Linked DNA regions of Homo sapiens: regions 1, 2, 3 and 4 are each linked to region 5. The links are contacts of gene promoters, found by promoter capture Hi-C in blood cells and fetal thymus (Javierre and others, 2016). All regions are on one chromosome and are shown on one strand. Each heading gives the region's core, a stretch centred on a gene start or on the middle of the fragment in contact. The rest is flanking DNA. Distances are from core to core; before and after follow the strand shown.

Region 1 (4,137 bases), core at 955-3,454, 480 kb before region 5:
AAGCTATGGGTATACCTTAAGAGAAAAAGTTCATTATCTGAAATAAACTAAGCTTGACTCCAGAGATCATTTTCCATCTTCACAAACAAGAATGTCAAAGGACAGAACCCCTGCAGCCCAGCTCAGAGGTTTCCCTAAAAGCCCAGAGAAAAGTCAGCATTCTTTACTCCCCATCCCCCTCCCCCTTTTCCACTGCAGGGCCTAACGTGGCTGGTCTCACACCCTCAATAATACCCTTGGGGATTTAAGACAGTAAAATTCTGGGTAAGCTCTCCTACCACTCTTGCGGCTGCCCAACTTACTTCCTGGGCTCATTTCCTTGCCAATTTACTCACGTTGAAAGGTTGCTGTCGCCAACAACGGTCACCCTCTTTCCTGCACGCAGAGGGCAGCTGAGCCAGCCAGAAGTGTACTTTGGGAGGATCTAATCACCCTAACTTTATTTCCTGGGCTGGTTCAGTCTCCTAACCCACCTACAAAGTAACCTGAAGACCAAGTTGTCACAATACAAATAATTATGCACATAGTATTTATAAAAGCTTTCTTACTATAAGTGCATTTTAAGCACTTCATTTGTATGCACTTTATATCTCCGTAAGAAAGCAAAAATGTTAAAAAGGAAGCAGGCCCCTACTTAATTAAGCCAGGGAACTGGTTAGAGCCCTACAAAAGCCTACCTATGGACAAAAAAGGGCGAAGGGGAAGGGAGCTGACACTATCCCTCCCGCAGGGTCCAGCCCTAATAGTGGGTTCTCCAGAAGCTCGCCAGGCATTCATTTCTCCAGGGGAGCGCCCTTACTTGGAGGTAGCGCTGCTTGGTTTTCTCGCCCGCCAGCGTTGAGTTCAGGTGTGCAGGCTACCAACCTGTATTCTTCAGGTAAGTCACCCTCCTCTGACTCGCCTCCCACCCTGCTCCCTCCTGCCTCGCGACCAGTGCGAAGGGAGTCCCCGAACTGCGACACCTCCCGGGGCAGCCGCACCGGTATCCGTCCGAGTCGACCCACTTGCCGTGGCTTTTCACCTACGCAGTAAAGCAAGTTTCATTTTCAAAAGGAGAGGAAGCAGGTTTCACAGACACCGCATTCCCAAGAAGTTTCTGAGAGACGCGCAGCGCACAAGTCACTGGCTTGGATCCCTTTGCTGCTCATGGTGTCCACAGTCTGATGTGAGCGCATTAAATTTAAGGATCTCCGCCCTTCTCCTTAAAACTCAGGACTTGGCAATGAGCCTAGGAAGCGCCCCTCCCCTCCCCAACCAGATCCAAGCCCCGGACCGCTGCGTCTCCAGCTGCGCCTAGTGAAACCGCCGAATTCGAATTCACACTCGGCGGGCCGGCGAAGGTGTGCGCGCCCGCGGGAGCGCCGGGGCGAGCCCGAGGGACTGCAAGCCAGGAAGGGAGGCATGGGTGGCGGGGGGCGCCGTCTGATCCAGGTAGGAGCGGAGGCGCCGATCACACACTCTTCAGACGCCCTGCCCGCGCCTGGCCAGCGCGCAGCCTGCAGGACGCGCGGAGCAGGAACTCGCTGGAGTTTGCCAAGCCCCAGGTCTCTGGAAAGTTGTAGCTCCCTTTCGGAGCGTCTCTTCTGGCCCTTTGGGACGGGTGTGTCAGGGGCGGGGGTCCTCGAGGGAGCAGGAGGGGAAAGGAGCACCGGGTCTCGGCACCTGTCCGCAGCTCCCCTCGGGTCCGCCTGCCCCCTACCAGGCTGGGCAAAGACCTGAGCACCACTTAGTGGGGGCGGACCCCCACTAAGTGAGCTCGCGGCTCCCTGGGGCTGCTGCCGCATCGCCGCACCTTTAGAGGAGGGGGGTCGCGGACTCACCTGGGCAATAGAAGAGGAGGCGACAGAGGCAGGTCCTTGGCGTGGGCAGGCCCCAGCAGGAGCGGCGCGACCTCTACAGCCCCTAGGCAGCGGCACCGAGTGAGCCGTCCCGCCGCCGCCCCCTCCGTTCTTATACGGCGGGACCACGCCCCCGTCCCCGCCCCTGAGCCGCCCTCCCGGGGGAGCCAGGGGCGGGGCGTGGCGGAGCCAGTCCCCTCGGGACCCTTCCGCCCGGCCCTGACGGCAGGGGCGGGGCGAGGGCTGCCCTCTGATTGGCTCTTCGGGTGAATGGTTGCCAAGAGACGAGTAAATCCTCAGCGGCGGGAAGGGGCGGGGTGCTCAGGGAGGCAGCACTGCGCAAGCGCAATAGAGGGGGCTGCGTCGACACCCACTTAACTTCGGAGTTAGTGGGACACCTTTCTTTTTGCTTAGTACGCTTTTCTGCTATTCCTGCCGCATAACTCTCTCTTCCCCAGGCTTTTCCCATCTCCATCCTATTCTCTCGCAGGCAGGTTTTTCTTCCGCCTCTCTGGGGATTTTCGCGTTGGTTCTCCCTGCCCCCAGGAGTGAGGCGGGTAACGCCCACGCCTACCTCCGGTGTGTGTTTTTGAAGTCGGAAAAAACTTAATGGTTTCTGGGCCCTGGGCACCTTTCTGATTCCCCAAGCAAACTGGCTGGAGGCGAAGGCGTGGTCTTCGGGGAGAGAGCGCCGGCGGCTCTCTGGCCCCGGGGACCACCTGTGTGCAGTTAGTGGGACGAAGGGCCTCGGGGAGTCCATCGCCAATGTCGGCAGCCGCAGCCGCTTCGGCCCCATTCGGAATGCCACAGCACTTGGTCCAGTGTGTTATATAACATGCAGGCAGGGCTTGGACACCATCCATTCATAACATAGCGAGTGGTTTACAGCCCAGGTTCTGAATTCAGACTAATCTGAGTTGAGATCTCCATGCACCACTTAAACTTTCTGTAAGGCCTTAGGCAAGTAACTGAACCAACCCTCCAACAACCTGCGTCTCCTATCTGTAGGACAAGACTAACAATGGGACAGCTCTGTAGAATTATATAAGTATTAAGAAAATACGTGGGAAACAATTAGTGCATTGCCTAGTGCCTGTTAGAAAGTGTGTGGCAAATGCTGTATGTATCAGATAGTAGCCAATGTTGGACAATGTTATTTATCAATAGACATTATTGTACTTGTATTGATCGTTTACTAGGTGCTGGGGGAAAAGATTACTTCCCAGATGCAGTATTTACATCTCCTCCGCCCTACTCTTCCAACCCTGCCTGAAATAAGTGTGGTTCTCCTGTCTGTCAGACTATGAAGAGTTCTCAAATATGTCTTTCCCAGCGAGGGAGAGGAGAGTGAGTATCCAGGAACTTTAATGCGATAGGACATCAATATGAGTGTTTATAGGGAAAGCCAGTGATCCTATTGTTAGACGCGAAATCAAGACATATGATCTGATTTTTTGTTTTACTTTTTGTTTTTGAGGTATAACATTCAGTAAAGCGCACAAATCAAAAGTGTCCAGAATGATAATTTTTTACATATGCATACCCATGTAACTGCCATCCATATCAAGATGTGGAACCTTTCCAGCTCATTCATGCCCCTTCCCATTCAGTATCCGACAAGGATTACCACTATTTTAACCTCTATCACCATAGATTAGTTTTACCAATATTTGAACTTGCTATGGATGAAATACATAACACGTACAATTTTATGTCTGGCTTCTCTTGCCCAACAGTGCGTCTATGAGATTCATCCATATTGTTGTGTGTAACAATGGTCCATTCTTTTTCACTACTGTGTATTACTTCATTATATAAATATTCAACGATTTGTGTACTCATCCTACTGTTGGTGGACATTTGAGTTGCTTCATGTTTCTGCCTTTGATGAAGCTGCTGCAGACATTCTTACACATGTCTTTTGGTGGACATAGCATTCATTTATGTTGGATATATATATATACCTAGGATTGGATTCCTGGTTCATAGAGTGTTCACATATTAAACTTTAAATACACTGCCAGTTTTTAAATTCGTATAACAATTTAGGTTCCAACCAGTGATATGAGATTTCCGGTTGTTTCACATCTTTGCCAGTATTGGTATTTTCAGTCTTTTTAATTTAAAAAGGGGGGGGATATGTATTTCATTGTGATTTAAAATTGCATTTTTTGATGATCAAGGATGTTGAGCAATTTTTCAGATGCTTATTGTTCATTTCAATACCCTTTTAATAAAGTGTCTGTTCAAGTCTTTCGCTCATTTGTAGGGAGTTGTCTGTCCTAATGACCTATAAGAG
Region 2 (4,122 bases), core at 473-2,972, 460 kb after region 5:
GGCTAAGGCGGGAAAGAGGGCTGAGTGGCAGGGTGGGGCCCAGGGCAGGAGAAGTAACCATCAATGGGAAAACAAGGCAATGTGACATTTGTGCCTTTTGTTTCTTCTGGCTGCTCAAGTAATGTAAGGCTGCATGCTGGTCCCCCTGCTGTTCGCTCTCTGGGCCACTCTGTGGAGTGGAGCTCGGGCCCTGGCACCTGGCAGGTGCTGTCATTTTCCCTCCACCCTCATCTTCATGTGTAAACAGGTGCCATGGAGGAAAATGAGCATCAAGGTGGCTTTAAAGGGGCACAGTGGCAGACATCCAGATGCAGGCTGAAGTGGGAAGGTTTGGAACTGTAGGCATGCATGTGGATCTCTGCCTGATTTGGAGCCCCACTGGTGGAACCTCATCTTTCTCTTCACCTGATGGCTCTCAGTATGGCAGGAAGGAGGCCTGGCTACTACTTTACTAATCTGGGAGAGGTAGAAGGCGTTTGGGGAGGGAGCAAAACCCATGTTGGGGTCTTATTTCCTGCTTGTCTTCTGATGTGGTCTGGTTCATGTGTCAGCATTCTTGCTGCATAATGTGAATTAATGTGTAGTATGAATTTAAAACAGCGAAGAATCCCAAGGTTTTAAGCCCATATAGGTCACATGCCTGGAATAAAATTTTGTTTAAAAAAGTTGGATAAGGCTAAGTGCTCTGAAAGTGAGACCGATGCAGGTACCAGCCTCTAGAAATGGCAATTTTAGTTAGAAAACCCTGGACAGTATGTGAGGGGTATACAGGGTAAATCTCGGAGACGCTTTCATCTCCCTCAACATGACAGACCTGTGCTTTTCTGCACCTGTCCTTTGCCAGTGTCTGGGATTGGAATCAGATTCCTCTTTTCTGTCTGTTGGGATACTGATTCCTGCTTATGTCTTTGTCCTACCCTTTGTCTTTGTACCTACCCCCTTGACCTCTGTGTGTTGTTTCCTTCTGTCCTAACCCTAGGTGCCTCACCCAATAAGGGTTGTGGTGGCAGTGCATGGCTCTGCCACCACAACCCTTGGTTCCAATTACAAAGCCATTTAAGCCTGGCTCTGGTTGAACCATGAGGGTAGTAAAGTCTCTATTTGAGGATAGATGTGGCCAGAGGGGCAGAAGATTAGAGAGAGAATAGAGGCTGGTACAGTGGTAGGAAGGGAAGGGTGACTGGAAAAGTGCCTCTGTCTGGGAGCAGCCTGCATGAGTGACAGTGACATGGGAAGATGACAGCAATGTGGGAAAGAGAGCATAGGATTTGTGTCTGTAAGAACAGGAAGGAAATTCTCAGGAAAGATGAATATAAGCTTTAGACACATACAGCACATTTTGATTTTGTGTAGCCAGGAAGAGTTATATACCTCCCAGACCAGTGCTGATGTTGCAAACAAGATTAAATAGCTTTAAAAGTGTTAGCAATGAAAAATGTAGGAGATTGGGACATCTGAGAACCTGTAGATGGCAAATGATCATTTGTGTTCTGCTCCAGAGGGAGAGAAGTTCATTTGTAGAGTTTGGGAAGTCTCTTCTTTGAATACGGTAAGGCTGAGGAAGCCATCTCTTACTTCCCAGTTAGTTAGAAAAGGCTTCTGAAAGGGATTGAAAGAAACTTTGAAGTACTATGGGTGTGACCTCAGAGGCAGGGCTGGAGTGATCAAAGGCAGAGGAGAAAGAGGAGGCAGAGAAAAGTGAGATGGTTTGGAGCAATCAGGAGAAGGGTTCTGAAAGAAGGGGATGAGGATTGTGATTTATGGATGAACAAACACCACTGTCCTAATAGTTGTCCCAGAGGTAGTGCACTTCCCTTTCCTGGGGACCATTTGACAAGGGTGCAGGAGAAGGAAATTCTTGTCAGGAGGACTTGGCCTACTAGGATGCCTTTCAGCTGTGAGAATCATTGAGCTACCTCCAGGTACCCAGGGCTGTGTTAAGATGTTGCCATCTTCTACGGTTTTCATGGCAGCAAGACTGCTGGTACTTCCATAATGGCAGTAATACCAGCTCTCCTAACTCTAGCCCTTACTGTGACCCAACTATATCAATCAGTCTTCAAAACAACCCTGTAAGATAGATACCTTGCATTATCACATTTTTATAGATGGGGAGATTGAAGCTTAGGGAGGTTAAGTAACTTGCCTAAGCTGGGCATGGTGGCTCATGCTTGTAACCGCAGCACTTTGGGAGGCTGAGGCGGGTGGATCACTTGAGGTCAGGAGTTTGAGACCAGCCTGGCCAACATGGTGAAACACCGTCTGTACTAAAAATACAAAAATTAGCCGAGCATGGTGGCACATTCCTGTAATCCCAGCTACTCGGGAGGCTGAGGCAGGAGAATCGCTTGAACCCAGGAGGCAGAGGTTGCAGTGAGCCGAGATCGCGCCGTTGCACTCCAGCCTGGGCAATGAGCAAAACTCTGTCTCAAAAAAAAAAAAAGAGTCACTTGCCTAAGATAGATTGCTGACAGTGTTAGGGCTCCAAGCTCCTGCTGTCTTGCTCCATGTGCATGCTCTCTATTCCCAAGATGACTTCATGGTCCAAGATGACTCTTCTAGCCGCAGCCATCAGGAAGGAAGAAAAGGCTAGTGAAGGGTAGGACCTCTTAATGTAAGGATACTTCCTGGAAGTTATATACATCACTTCCACTAACATTCTCATTGGCTAGAACCTAGTCATGTGACCATATTTAGCTGCAAAGAAGGCTGGAAAATATGCTTATCCTGAGGGTCCATGTGTCCTGAGAAAAACTTGGGATTCTATGACTGTAGGGAAAGGAGAGAACAGATTTTGGGGGACAGCTGCCCATCTCTGCCATAGTCACAAAGCTAAAAAGTGGCAGAGTAGGGTTTTGAAGCCAGGACCATTTGGTTCCAAATCCTGTGTTCTTACATCTAATAAGCTATTCCGTTTGACTCTGAAGCCGAGCCTCTGGCTTCTAAGAAGGCTTGTTAGGAAGGCATGAGTTAGATGAACCAACGTTTGTTTCATAGGAAGCAACCTAAATCAGCATATAATTAAACACTACATTTTGTGGTTTTATCAGTGAGTATTAAAGTGTTTATAGAGTGCTTATGTGCCAGTCACTGTGCTAAACACTTTACATAGCATGACCTTCTGTATAAAATTCTTGAAGACCATCTGTCATGTTCATTACTGTAGTCCCAGAACTCAGCCTTGTGCCATGCAAAGTAAGCAGGTGTTCAGTTATTTTATTTTTTTTGAGATGGAGTCTCACACTGTTGCTCAGGCTGGAGTGCAGTGGCACGATCTTGGCTCACCGTAACCTCCGCCTGCTGGGTTCACGCGATTCTCCTGCCTCAGCCTCCCGAGTAGCTGGGATTACAGGCACACACCACCACACCCGGCTAATTTTTTTGTATTTTTAGTAGAGATGGGCCTTCACTATGTTGGCCACACTGGTCTCAAACTCCTGACCTCGTGATCCGCCTGCCTTGGCCTCCCAAAATGCTGAAATTACAGGCGTGAGCTACCACACCTGGCCCAGTTAATTTTTTGATGAGTGAATGGTTTCACAAGGTAGGTGTTGTTTCTGTGTTGGCTTCCTTGATCAAGATAAGGAAATTCATGACACTTTTCCCTTGAAAACAATTATGTTCAAAGGAAAAGAGCTGGAATTTGGCAGAATCTGAATTTGAATTCACATTTGTCTGATTATAGAGCTTCTTAACCTTTTTTGTGTTATGGATCCTTTTGGCAGTCTGGTGAAGCCTATAGACCCCATCTGAGCATAACATTTTAAAATGCATACGTGGCCGGGTATGGTGGCTTACGCCTGTAATCCCAGCACTTTGGGAGGCCAAGGTGGGTGGATCACCTGAGGTCAGGAGTTTGAGACCAGCCTGGCCAATTAGCTGGGCGTGATGGTGTGTGCCTGTAATCCCAGCACCTCGGAAGGCTGAGGCAGGAAAATCCCTTGAACCTGGAGGTTGCCATGAGCTGAGATTGCGCCACTGCACTGCAGACTGGGCCACAGAGCAAGACTCTGTCTCAAAAAAAAAAAAAAAAAAAAAAAGAAAAGCATACATAGGCCAGGTGTGGTGGCTCACTGCTGTAATCCTAGCACTTTGGGAGGCAGAAGCAGGGAGATCACTTGA
Region 3 (3,735 bases), core at 3-2,502, 380 kb after region 5:
TATCATCTCCCTAAGGTCTTCCATGTTTTTTCGGTGGGTTGCATTATCATTATCCCATTGGGGGTCTTGGGCTGGAAATTTTTGTTCTACTGCAGGGATATTTTGACTGGGAGGATGTGCATGCTCCCAGACTATCATAGCAGCCCTGTGGATCATGTTTATTCCCCTCCACCACCCAAAAAAGAGAATACTTAAGATGGACATTAGCCCAAGTATATACTTGTGGTCCTAAAAATTGGTCAATTTGATCCACAACCCCAAAAGGATCATCTAATGGTGATTTAAGTTCCCTCTTCAGGTTTCTGACCTCTGAACTAGTTAAGGGGGCATTTTCAGAGCCAATTCCCCTCCTCCAAGTGGTACTTCTCTTAAGGGAAAAAGGGTTGGGGCAGACTCCTTTGAGGAGGAGGGGAAAGGGAAGTTTCGAATATCCTTTTTACATTGTTCTATTTCACATTGAAGCTTTCCTAGGACAGGGCATTCAGACTGGGAATGGCCCCAAGAGTCAGGATTATAAGGGGAGGGAACAACGTGAGCAGGGGAAGGGTTTGGGGTGGTTACATCTGCTTGAGGAGGAGGCAAAGTTGGTGGTGTTTAGCAGAGGAAGGTGGTCTAAAGGATCCCATGTGTTAATGGACTGTTTGGGGTAGGGGTCTCAATTTCTTTAGGGGAGGTAGTTTCTGGCTTATTTCCTGTAGCTTTTAGAGGGTAGAAGAGGACAGGCCCCTGCCCCCAGCACAGGGCATAGTCTATTTCCTCTTGGGAGACAGGACTTTTATCATTGACATATTCTATTAAAAGTTGACAAATCCAATCCTCATTTGACCCAAACCTTGGTGAGAAAACTGAAGATTTGAGAATAGGTTTTTTTGGTCCAAATAAAGCAACAATATTTGGTCCAAATAAATCAACAATATTTATCATTTTCTGCTTCTTCTTATGTTTGGTCCTTTCATTATCCCTCCAATATTTTAACATGAGACCTAGAGGGCTATCAGAGGGAATTTTATTGTCTGTCTTGTCCTTTATATTCCCTGTCCTGCTTAGGGTATTTCCCATCCTGGAAGTTGTAGGCATTTCCCTGAGTTTCCTGACTGTGTGTGGCTCATTCTCTCTTACTAGAGATTTCTTGCACTCTTTCTCTGGAGGCTCAGCAACCCCCTCCCCCCCAACCACTGGAAGTTTCTTGAACTCCTTTGCTTTCCCTTTGTCCTTCTTTGGCTGTTTCTCTCCTGGGAATTTAGGTCCTTCTTAGCATTGATGGGTCGGTATAAACCCCTGACAGGAAAGCCACCTTAAGCCATGTGACGTGACCACAGAACAGCAAATCCAGACTCCACACTCGCTTTGCACTTAATTGTGCATCTTATTCACACACTTTCAACCTCCAGGACATCCCAACCACCAAGGAAGTACTTCACCACCCCCGCAGCTTTTCTTACCTTGGTCTATGCACAGAATTACCTGGTCACTGCAGTATCTGTAGGCCTTTTCCTCCCATGTTGCTGAGAGTCTGGGTTTATTCGTCACGCCAGGTGGGTCTCGATCCCTCACTCCTGAGGCAGCTGCAATGAGGCAGTGGGATGCGTCTCCTCACAAGAGATGATCGGAGACCCTTCCCCTGAGGAGAATGGGATCCTAGATGAGCCCCCAAGTTGTTAGAAGCAAGTGCTCAGTGCCACAAGGAAAAACCAGCACTTAGATAGAAAATTTCTCAGCAAGGCACATTTACTTTGCAGAAGGGTGCTGCCTGCATCCCTCCAATCACAAGAGCACACCAAGTCAGCTAGGGCAGGGATTTTTATCCCTAAAACAGTTCCTGTTTCTGTGTCCTTTCCCCATTGGCTGGAGTTGGGCACAGTCTAAGCTGACCTGATTGGCTAGTGTTTGAAATTGAATAAGGTCAGTTAGGCAGGAAGGGAGAGGCTGTCCATTACCAACTAGGTGGGAAGGGTTGTTTACAGAATAAGACATTTGCTCTTTACAGATTAAGCAGAGAAACAAGTGCTCATTACTGATTAAGAAAGACCATGGAAGCTTTGAAGAGGAACTTGTTATTTCTGGCAGGACTATGGTCAAAATTGCCATTTCTGTATTTCACACTTACCTGAATTTTTTGAACTGTGAGATTTTGGAAGAGAAAGAAATTCCAAATAGGATTACATCCCCTCACATTTCAGTGGAGGACTCTAAGCCCTGAGAGGTTCTGGGTTGTGCCTGTCCCCTTCCTCCACACTTTCATCACCTAATCCCTAGCCCTTTGGACCTGTGCTCCAAACTCGGAGACACTGCTTGCTTCTTCCTGAGACCTCACTGTCACTTTTTGCCTTGCACACCTCACTTGTCCTTAGTTGCAGTAATCCCTGCGTCCCACCTCACCTTCCTGCCTAACTTCCATCTCCTCTCTTTGGTGCCTCCACTTGCACCCTCATTACACCTTCCCACAGACTCAGGGTAGAAACACAAAAAAGGAGTAAAGTGTCTAGCATTTTTTTTTTTTTTGAGATGGAGTCTTGCTCTGTTGCACAGGCTGGAGTTCAGTGGCACAATCTCAGCTCACTGCAACCTCCCTCTCCTGGGTTCAAGCGATTCTCCTGCCTCAGCCTCCTGAGTGGCTGGGACTACAGGTGCACACCACCACACCCAGCTAATTTTTGTATTTTTAGTGGAGATGGGGGTTTCACCATATTGGCCAGGCTGGTCTTGAACTACTGACCTCATGATCCACCAGCCTCAGCCTTCCAAAGTGCTGGGATTACAGGCATGAGCCACCATGCCCAGCTGCATTTTTACCAAAAACTGACATTTGAGTGCCTCCCATCCCGTCCTGGCCCCAGGCACCTGCTCAGACCATGATGAGCTTTGGTGGCTCTGAGGCACTGCTGGGTGCTGAACGGCAGCAGCAGCCTCCACTACACGCTGACCCTAAAGGGCAGCACAAGCAGAAGGCGCTCGGCTGCTGGATCCTCCAGCGGGTTCCACTCATGGACACGGATGTCCATGAGCTCCATGTCAGCCTCGCCCAGCCACTTCGGGGGCGCCTGCCGCCTTGAGCACTGACTGGCTGGACACGCTGACCAATGGGATGGGAGGGCTGAGTGGTGGCGGCAGCCACAGCGCACAGTGAGAAGGAGCAGCTGCAGGTGCTGAAGGACTGCTTCACAGGCTAGAGCGACAAGGTGCGGCAACTAGACGTGCACAACTGCAGCCTGGAGGGTGAGGCGGTGGTGCTGCGATAGCAGCAGGCAGGCTGCACCACCGTGGGTGAGCTGTATGAACTCGAGGTCTGCGGGATGCGCCCCACGGTGCTGTGCCTGGGCATGGTGCGCAGTCTGCTGCGCCTGGAGCAGGAGCACCTGCTCCAGGACTTCCACATGTGCACCGGTGCCTCCATGATGAGGCCCAGCAGCACAAAGAGGTCAAGGCTTGTGCTGTTGGCGGCTTCTTGCAGGAGGCCGAGGCGGCGGGCGTGGAACTGCAGAAGAAGGCGCAGGCACTGCAAGAGGAGTGTAGCTACCTGTGGCACCGCCAGCAGGAGCAGGTGGGCGAGCTGCTCGGCCAGATGCAGGGCTGCGGCGCCTCGCAGGCGCAGGCGCAGGTGCAGGCCGCGGAGGGGACGCCCTCAAGTGTGACGTGATGTCACGGCGTCTGCACTGCATGAGATCTGCGGCAGCTTGAAGGCCATGCGGTGCAGAGCACGCTGCAGTTTGAGGAGTGGTTCCAAGTGAGGATGGA
Region 4 (3,731 bases), core at 34-2,533, 420 kb after region 5:
TGCAACCCCAATCAAAATCCCAGCAGGCATTTTTTCTTTAAGCAATTGTAATACTGAACCTAAAATTTGTAAGAAATTAAAATAGCCTATGTTAGCCAAAACAATTTTGAAAAAGAAGTTCAAAACTGAAGGACTTAATTTGATTTCAAGACTTACTTTAAAGCTACAGTAATCAAGAAGTATTGCCTCTGGCTGCTTCCTCATTATGATGGTAGAGTTGAGTAGTTGTAACAGGAACCATATGGCCCAGAAGGCCTAAAATCCTATCTGGCCTTTCACAGAAAGAGTTTGCTGACCTCTGTGATACATGATGCTCATGTGTAAGACACTCCTATCTATAATTCCTGGCCTACCTGGTATTATTCCACCACTTTCTCTGTTACTCATTATAGCATATTAAAGTGCAGATGAGGGAAAATAATTTTAGAAATAATATTTAATCCCTTCTAATTTATTTAAAATCAAAATTGTTCATAGATTTTGGCACTTTATGGTTAATAATATGTTATTTGCAATATCCCTTACAACTGTATACAAAGCCATAGTGGAAAACCAGTCCTACCAGGATGAAGATAATTACACATTAAATTTGTATTCTATGTAAATATGTATATGAGGCATTATAAGCATTATTTGACCCATTTTTTAAATGAGGAGGCTGACTGGCAAATGCATCTATTAGAGCCTGCAGAAAGTGAGGAAGGCATGGTTAGGAAAAACAGACCAATTGGACAGTGGAATTAATAGGTTCAAATTGGTGATAGATTGGACATAGGTAATGAAGACAAGAAAGTATTGGAAAAGTAATTTTGAGAGTTGTTGTGAATCTGGGTTTTTAGACAGGGTTGCCATTGACCTGGTAGGAAAATTGTGAAAAAACATTTATTTCGCCACTGAGAGCAGGTTGATTATGAGTTCCATTTCTAATTGCTTAAAGTGGTGCTTTCCAAATTAATGGATTTACAAAGTACCTGGTCATCTTGTTAGAATGCAGATTCTGATTCAGTAGTTTTGTGACAAGGCCCAAGATTCTGCATTTCCAATAAGCTTCCAGGTGATTCTGATGTGACTGGTTCAGGAACCACACTTTTTTAGAAAGGCATTAAATGTGACTAAAGGAAATCCAAGTGTAGATTTCTTCTGGAAGGTAAGAGGAGGGTCCTGACAGGGAATACTGTTTATGCAGTTGGAAAGAACCTATTTGTCTTCTCTAGAGGCAAGATACATAACTAAGGGCCTGTAATCTTGAGGAGATTCTCAGTGCAGAGAAGAGAAGGATCCAGAACAATCAAGGAGACAGAATAAGAGCTATCAGAAAACTAGAAGAACCAGGAGCATTTAGCATCATTAAGGAATCCTATGGAATATTGAATTTCAAGGAGTCAATCAATGAATTCCAACATGCAACTCATTCATCACACAATCTTTCCTGGCCCCCTTTCTTTGCCTCCTTTGGTCTTTTTTCCAGCGCTCTCTAGAATGTAGTAGATGCTTACTGGACTGTCTGTCCAAAGCTTCCCCACTCCTTTTTTTTTTTTTAGGAAAGCCTCCCATCATCAATATGACTACCATAAGAGCTGCCATGTTTTTATGTGACTCTCTGTCCTCTTCCTACAGTTGATTGGTCCAGGCATGGACACCTGATCCCAGCTCAACCAATCATAAATTTCTTCTCTGGGATTATTCAAACTAGGATTCTACAGAGACAAAAGTTGTCAGGTGCAAAACAGTCTTTATAATAGGAAAAGTCGTTTGGCACAAAATCTACTAGTCCTAATATGCAGCCATGTTAGGAGCCAATAGAGAGAAAAAGTAAAGACAGGTGATGGAAGACAGTCCTAGAAGTGTTCCAGTTTTTGTTCCAACTGTTCCCAAGCCCAATTACTTTCGTTCCTTTCCCATGATTTGGTTATTCAATGTTCCCTTCAGTGACCCAGAAAACTCCCCCTGTTGCCTAAGTGAGTTTGAGTCACTTGCAACAGAATCCTGACTAATACATGGCAAACTTTATCCCCACTCATTTTGTCTTATACACCATCTTCCTTTGGGCCCCTGCACCCTGTTGACTGCAGCTTTCCCAGGTTTTTCCTCAGAATGACACCAGGCCAAAACCAGCTGCTGGGCAAGGACCATAAACCCCACTGTCGGTCTTGGTGGATGTTAATGTGTCACTGAACACCAATGTACCAAATCGATGTATTCATGGCAACAGCCGAAAAGAGCCCACAAAAGTCTAATCTTTGGCACACTGGGGGCTTCACTGGCAGATTGTTAAGACCCTGGGGGCAAAACTTAATTTGCATAAGTATTTGCAATGCACAATTTCCTTTTTATTCATTTACACTAAATTAAATTCATTTTGGAATCCCCAAAGTTATTGCTGTTGACTTCTCTCCCCTTACTTTATGTTCTAGGTATATTTCCCCAAAACTGAAAGCCATTTTCATCTCTTGTTTTCTGGATGCCTCAGATCCCAAGTGAGGTTTTATCCCTCCACAGTTCTTTAAGATTAGCAAATTAAATTAACTCCTTAACTGCTGGGAAATTTAAAAAACAAAAAAACTGCTGTTTTGCAAAAATGCAAATATTATTAGAACGCCCTACTCTCTTCCCTACCCCCAACACACACACACACACACACACACACACACACACACACACACACTGGCACGCACACAGGCCTGGCTGCGCTCGAGAAGCCCACTTCCACCACCCCTTCTGCAGACAGAAATGCTGGCATTCGTAAGCTGTCACACTGAGGAAGACAGCAGCTGTGTTATTCCATGATTTATAGAACAGATTTGCATTTCCTTGCCTTTGAAGCTTGCCTATAATCTGACACATAAATATTTGAAAGACAGGATGGTGGAAACAGACCTAAGCAGCTTAATCGAACACTCGGCAGGTAGAGGACTTGGGCTGGTGTTCATTTCAAACACCCCCTTGCCCTGAGGCCTCTTGGTGTGTGTGTACAAAATTGAAATTCGGTGTTCAAACCCAAACCTACAGTCACAATTCCACTTGAAGGAAAAGTCAGAAGAATGCCCCTCTGAAAGCAGGTTTTGTTTCGTCTGGTCTCCTGAGGCAAAAGCCCAGTAGTCTTCCTTAAATTCTGCTCCAGGAAGCAGGAAGCAGGGAGTATAAGTGTCTCAACCACTCCAGAAGCCCCAAGTGTGCTCATGCAGGGACAGGAGCTCTGCCCTGCCTCACAGAGGCCCTGAGGCCACAGAGAGGCACTTTCACCAGTGAGGAGGCACATTCCTGTCCTGGAGACCAGTCATAGCTCTGGCTGCCCCAGAGAACCAGGATTCCCTGGAAGGGGATCAGGCAAGCCTTCGATTTTCCATGCATCCACCTTCATGCAGCTTTTCCCAAAATATCGTACGGAGAACACTTTTTGAAGTTCATGTTAAATGGCCACAGTCACACTGCTTTTTTTTTTTTTTTTTTGAGACAGAGTCTCGCTCTGTCACCCAGGCTGGAGTGCAGTGGGGCGATCTCAGCTCACTGCAAGCTCCGCCTCCCGGGTTCATGCCATTCTCCTGCCTCAGCCTCCTGAGTAGCTGGGACTACAGGCACCTGCTACCACGCCCAGCTAATTTTTTGTATTTTTTTTTTTTAGTAGAGACAGGGTTTCACCGTGTTAGCAAGGATGGTTTCGATCTCCTGACTTCGTGATCCGCCCCGCTCAGCCTCCCAAAATGCTGGGATTACAAGCATGAGCCACCACA
Region 5 (4,176 bases), core at 1,458-3,957:
ATGGTAAATACTAAAGAGATTGCCTATTGAGAAAAGGCCAGCAATATGGTCACTCATGATCTACAAGAAAGTCTCAATAGGAAAGAGGGGAGGAATAAATCGGTGGTGATGGTTATAAAAAGATGATGAAAGCAGACAGTGAGACCACCCTTTTGAGAAATATAGGGGCGAGAACCACCACTATTAATACGTTGAAGGGGAGCTAGATCAAAAGACGATTTGCTTCCCCTTTCAGGACTTCATCAGAACTCTTGGCAGAAAAACTGACTGAAACATAGGAATAAGGTTTTGAGGAAGCAGGAGAGGTTGGGATAAAAAACAAAAATCTTGAGGAACTAATCTTGGCACTAAAGAATGGCAGTCAGGAGAGGTAAGAGAGGAGGTGTGAGGAATCATGGATTTTTTAAGTAGAAAGGCGAGGCAGTTCTTCAGACAACCTTGTTTTTCTCATCAATGGAAGGGAATTAGCTGCAGCATGTGTGAGGGATTTGATGCTTAATAAACTGAGAAAGGAAAGGTAGAGGTGGCCAGGCGCGGTGGCTCACGCCTGTAATCCCAGCGCTTTGGGAGGCCGAGGCGGGTGGATCACCTGAGGTCAGGAGTTCGAGAGGAGCCTGCCCAACATGGTGAAATCCAGTCTCTACTAAAAATACAAAAAATTAGCCAGGTGTGGTGGTGCATGCCTGTAATTCCAGCTACCTGGGAGGCTGAGGCAGGAGAATCGCTTGAACCCTGGAGGTGGAGGTTGCAGTGTGCCGAGATCCTGCCATTGCATTCCGGCCTAGGCAACAAGAGCAAAACTCAATCTCAAAAAAAGAAAAAAAAAAAAAGGGAAAGGTAGAGGTAGCCCGAATATAATCTTAGATATGGCATCATAAGGTTGTGTTCAAGTTCCAGATATGTTAACTTGGGCTGGCCATCCAAGACCTGGCAAGACCTCTTTGAGGCCATTTCCTTACAATATTGTTAAAGGTTAAATGAGATACTGCTAAATGAGATATTGCACGTGTAAATTATGAAGTACTTCTGAAACAAGAGAAGCTTGAAACTACTACCACAAGAAATGTGATACAGTATGAACAAGAGATGAAGTAAAGCACAGCCAAGCAGCAGGGAGGGTAAAGGTGAAGTTCAAAGCAAGAATATATAGCAAACCCAAGTCCACACAGTTTTTGTGACTTCCTCCAGCCTACTGGAGAGGCGAATGCCGATTTTGAGAGTAGATGCAAGAAGGACAAGAGGCTGAAAAAAATCTAGGTAAGGACTATTTAAAAATCTTTGGAGATATGCTTAACATTTGGAAATTACTTGCACATTTTATATAAAGGTGGCATTTGACTCATTGGCGTGTTATATTTTGGAAATGGCCAAACATTTCATTTTTATATTTTATAATGGTTTTTTTTTTTTTTTTCATATTTTGGGGTTAACTTTTTTTCAGATTCCATACTTTTAAAAGCTTAGGCTCCAGACACTATGCCTATAGCATGAAACAGATAATGAAGGAATCAAGTGAAACAGTCGCCCACTGGGTACAAATTAAGTAGGGAAGGTCATGAACAAAGAAAGCAGTGAGGGCCCAGTAGACAAGCTGACGCAACTGGAGATAACAACAGGTGGAGGGGAAAGGAGCAGCTGTTTCCATTTTTGGAATTTTGGAGAATCAGGAGACGCCTGGTAAGGCCAGAGAAGGTGGCCGTGTAATTATAAAGTTAAAGGGGTCGGACGTGTTCATCTTCCCAATTAGTTTTAAGCCCACAAAGGGCTTGTCCCTCATTGCCACCGTCCATTGTCTCACTGTGACCAGGCAGGAGCCCTCCGTGATTGACTGATAAAAACAGCGGGTCCAACTCGCTCAGCTCGTTTCTGTTACACAGGACTGTGGAATCCCGGGTGACATTCAACTCCTTAGGTCATCTGCACTCCCCCCGGACCGGAAAACAAAGCCTTCCCGAGCCCGACAAGGAGGGTGGCGCTCCCTGGCCCGGCCGAAGTAAGCCCTCCATTCGACACCTCGGCTCCACGGTCTCCCGAACCGGTCCCCGTAACGCGAGCCTGAGATGCCCTCACCCCCGAAAAATACCCAAAGTCGGGGAGCCGCGGGAGTGCTTGTACCCAGCACGCTAGGCCTGAGGGACCTGTGAGCTACAGTAAGCGCCTGAGGACAGAGGGGAGCCTCGCAGCCTCAAACCCGCGTGGAGGAGAAACGTCTGGCGCCCCCGAGCGGCCGAGACCTCGGGAGCCCGAAAAACGTCTCCCACTCCCAGCGCAGAGCCAACTGACAGTGCCATCCACCAATGGGAGAACCCAGTCTGCGTTCGTGGGACGAGTCCGAGGGCAGAAAGAAGGCCGTCCCGGCGCCAAATCAGCGTGGCTTTTTAAGAGGTCCTGAGGCCTCTCTGGTCACCACAGAGAGAGGGACAGTCCCTGTGAAACGGTGACGCTGACTACACTATGCCGCTCGCTCCGAGCCTTGGCCTTTTCCTCCCGCCGCACTCTAAGCCCTTCGGCCGCCCCGCCCACGGCCTTGTCAGGTCCCGCCCCCCGCGTGAGTGGACTGGCGAAGATGTGGAATTTCCAAAACTTATTGGATGCTTAGTGGCGTCACTCTGGAGGGCGGCGGGGCCCGGAGCGGCGAGGGCCGCCGCTCTCGGACGGTGATTGGACTCGCCGGAGTAGACCGGGCTGGGATTGGTGTGAGGAGGGGCCAGAGCCCGCGGGCGTCCCGGGCCGAGGCGCGGGAGAGGCGGTGGACACCGAGAAGCCCGCCGGCGGCTTGCAATTCCCTCACCCGGCGCGCGCCTTTCGCAGAGGGAAGGAGCAAGAGGGCCCCTACCTCATCGTGCGCGGGTGGGGTCGGCGCTTGTCGCGTGTGGCGCGCAGTGGGGCGGGCGGCGGGAGGGGGGTGGCAGTGGAGGGAGCGAGAGGTGCAGGGGTGACTTTGTTGGCAGCAGGACTAGCTGGAGAGCTAGACCTGGAAGCGCATCCGGGGAGGACTTGCGGGGCAGAGGAGGGCGTGGGCGTGTCTGGTGTGGGATGCAGTGGAAAGGAGGGGGCCCTCCTGAGTAGATCTGTGGGTGATTCCTTCGAGGACGCCTCGTCTTCCCGTCTGCCCTTTTATTTGTCAGCGAGGGAGTCCCCATGGTCTCTGTTCAAGTTCTGGAGACTTTCTCTTTGGGTGGGCTTAATCACCTGCTACTAAATCGTAGAACTGCCCAGGGCCCTTTCTAATATTGGTCACAAACGTGAGGAGTATGTCAGAAAACAGAAAACCGCTGCTGGGCTTTGTAAGCAAACTCACTAGTGGGACTGCACTTGGGAACTCAGGCAAGACTCACTGCCCCCTGTGCTTGGGGCTTTTCAAAGCCCCCAGGCTCTTGCCTTGTTTGCATACAGTTTGCACCACGTGTCTGGAGCAGCTGGAGCCCTTCTCAGTAGTGGACATCCGAGGGGGAGACTCTGACACAAGCTCTGAGGGGTCAATATTCCAGGAACTCAAGCCACGAAGTCTGCAGTCGCAGATCGGCATCCTTTGTCCTGTATGTGATGCTCAGGTGGACCTGCCCATGGGTGGAGTGAAGGCTTTAACCATAGACCACCTGGCCGTGAATGATGTGATGCTGGAGAGCCTACGTGGGGAAGGCCAGGGCCTGGTGTGTGACCTGTGCAACGACAGGGAAGTAGAGAAGAGGTGTCAGACCTGCAAAGCCAACCTCTGCCACTTCTGCTGCCAGGCTCATAGGTAAAGATGGGACACTCCATCAGGTGTAGCTTAAGAGCAGATTACAAAGAGGTGTCAAGACAAATCCCTCGGTGAGCAGATGAAAAGGAAAGCCTTCTCAAATACCGTGGAAGGTCAAAGAGCAATATAACAATGCAATAGCAAATACTCCAGTACAACAGTTAACCCGGTTAGCCTAATATAGTACCTAATATATAGCCTAATATAGCAATAGCAATAAACCCTTTCAATTTACAAAGTGCAGCTACAGTTTCCTTCAGTCATTCGTGTAGTGAATAATTGTACTGGGTGCTGGAGAAACAGGAGAATGAATATAACAGCATAGATCCTGTTCTTGATCTCCTTCGATCTTGCAACTCTTACAGAAAAGCAGGCCCTGTTTTCGCCCCCATTTATTAATTGGGGAAACAAGCTCAGCAATATTATGTGATTTG

Evidence for each region. The method cuts DNA at HindIII sites, captures the fragments that hold promoters and counts their contacts. A CHiCAGO score of 5 or more calls a contact.
Region 1: a contact is called between the fragment with the promoter of TENT5C-DT here and the fragment with the promoter of TRIM45 in region 5, in 6 of 17 cell types (total B cells, monocytes, naive B cells and 3 more). The highest score is 7.8, in total B cells.
Region 2: a fragment that was not itself captured here is called in contact with the fragment with the promoter of TRIM45 in region 5 in 2 of 17 cell types (fetal thymus and non-activated CD4 T cells); the score reaches 8.7 in fetal thymus.
Region 3: a contact is called between a fragment that was not itself captured here and the fragment with the promoter of TRIM45 in region 5, in 3 of 17 cell types (naive CD4 T cells, total B cells and fetal thymus). The highest score is 7.1, in naive CD4 T cells.
Region 4: a fragment that was not itself captured here is called in contact with the fragment with the promoter of TRIM45 in region 5 in 1 of 17 cell types (naive CD4 T cells); the score reaches 5.1 in naive CD4 T cells.

The regions. Positions count from the first base shown.
Region 1 is chr1:117,603,837-117,607,973 of GRCh38, reverse strand. It overlaps TENT5C-DT (TENT5C divergent transcript), which reads left to right and starts at 2,204. Exons shown (of 3, transcript NR_121626.1): 1 at 2,204-2,328; 2 at 3,038-3,185. It overlaps TENT5C (terminal nucleotidyltransferase 5C), which reads right to left and starts at 1,926. Exons shown (of 2, transcript NM_017709.4): 1 at 1,821-1,926. RefSeq lists a silencer at 1,861-2,200 and enhancers at 2,111-2,611, 2,612-3,112. The HindIII fragment of the contact is 6,964 bases long and covers 542-4,137 here.
Region 2 is chr1:116,660,398-116,664,519 of GRCh38, reverse strand. The region is part of intron 2 of IGSF3 (immunoglobulin superfamily member 3); the gene reads left to right. Among named protein-coding and RNA genes, the nearest start is that of IGSF3, 5.3 kb to the left of the region's middle. The HindIII fragment of the contact is 806 bases long and covers 1,320-2,125 here.
Region 3 is chr1:116,741,727-116,745,461 of GRCh38, reverse strand. It overlaps the pseudogene NEFHP1. Among named protein-coding and RNA genes, the nearest start is that of CD2, 11 kb to the left of the region's middle. The HindIII fragment of the contact is 1,575 bases long and covers 465-2,039 here.
Region 4 is chr1:116,696,298-116,700,028 of GRCh38, reverse strand. The region is part of intron 2 of LINC02868 (long intergenic non-protein coding RNA 2868); the gene reads right to left. Among named protein-coding and RNA genes, the nearest start is that of LINC02868, 4.1 kb to the right of the region's middle. The HindIII fragment of the contact is 467 bases long and covers 1,050-1,516 here.
Region 5 is chr1:117,120,280-117,124,455 of GRCh38, reverse strand. It overlaps TRIM45 (tripartite motif containing 45), which reads left to right and starts at 2,707. Exons shown (of 6, transcript NM_025188.4): 1 at 2,707-3,742. The coding sequence starts at 3,255. RefSeq lists an enhancer at 2,273-2,442 and a silencer at 2,753-2,942. The HindIII fragment of the contact is 3,223 bases long and covers 1,462-4,176 here.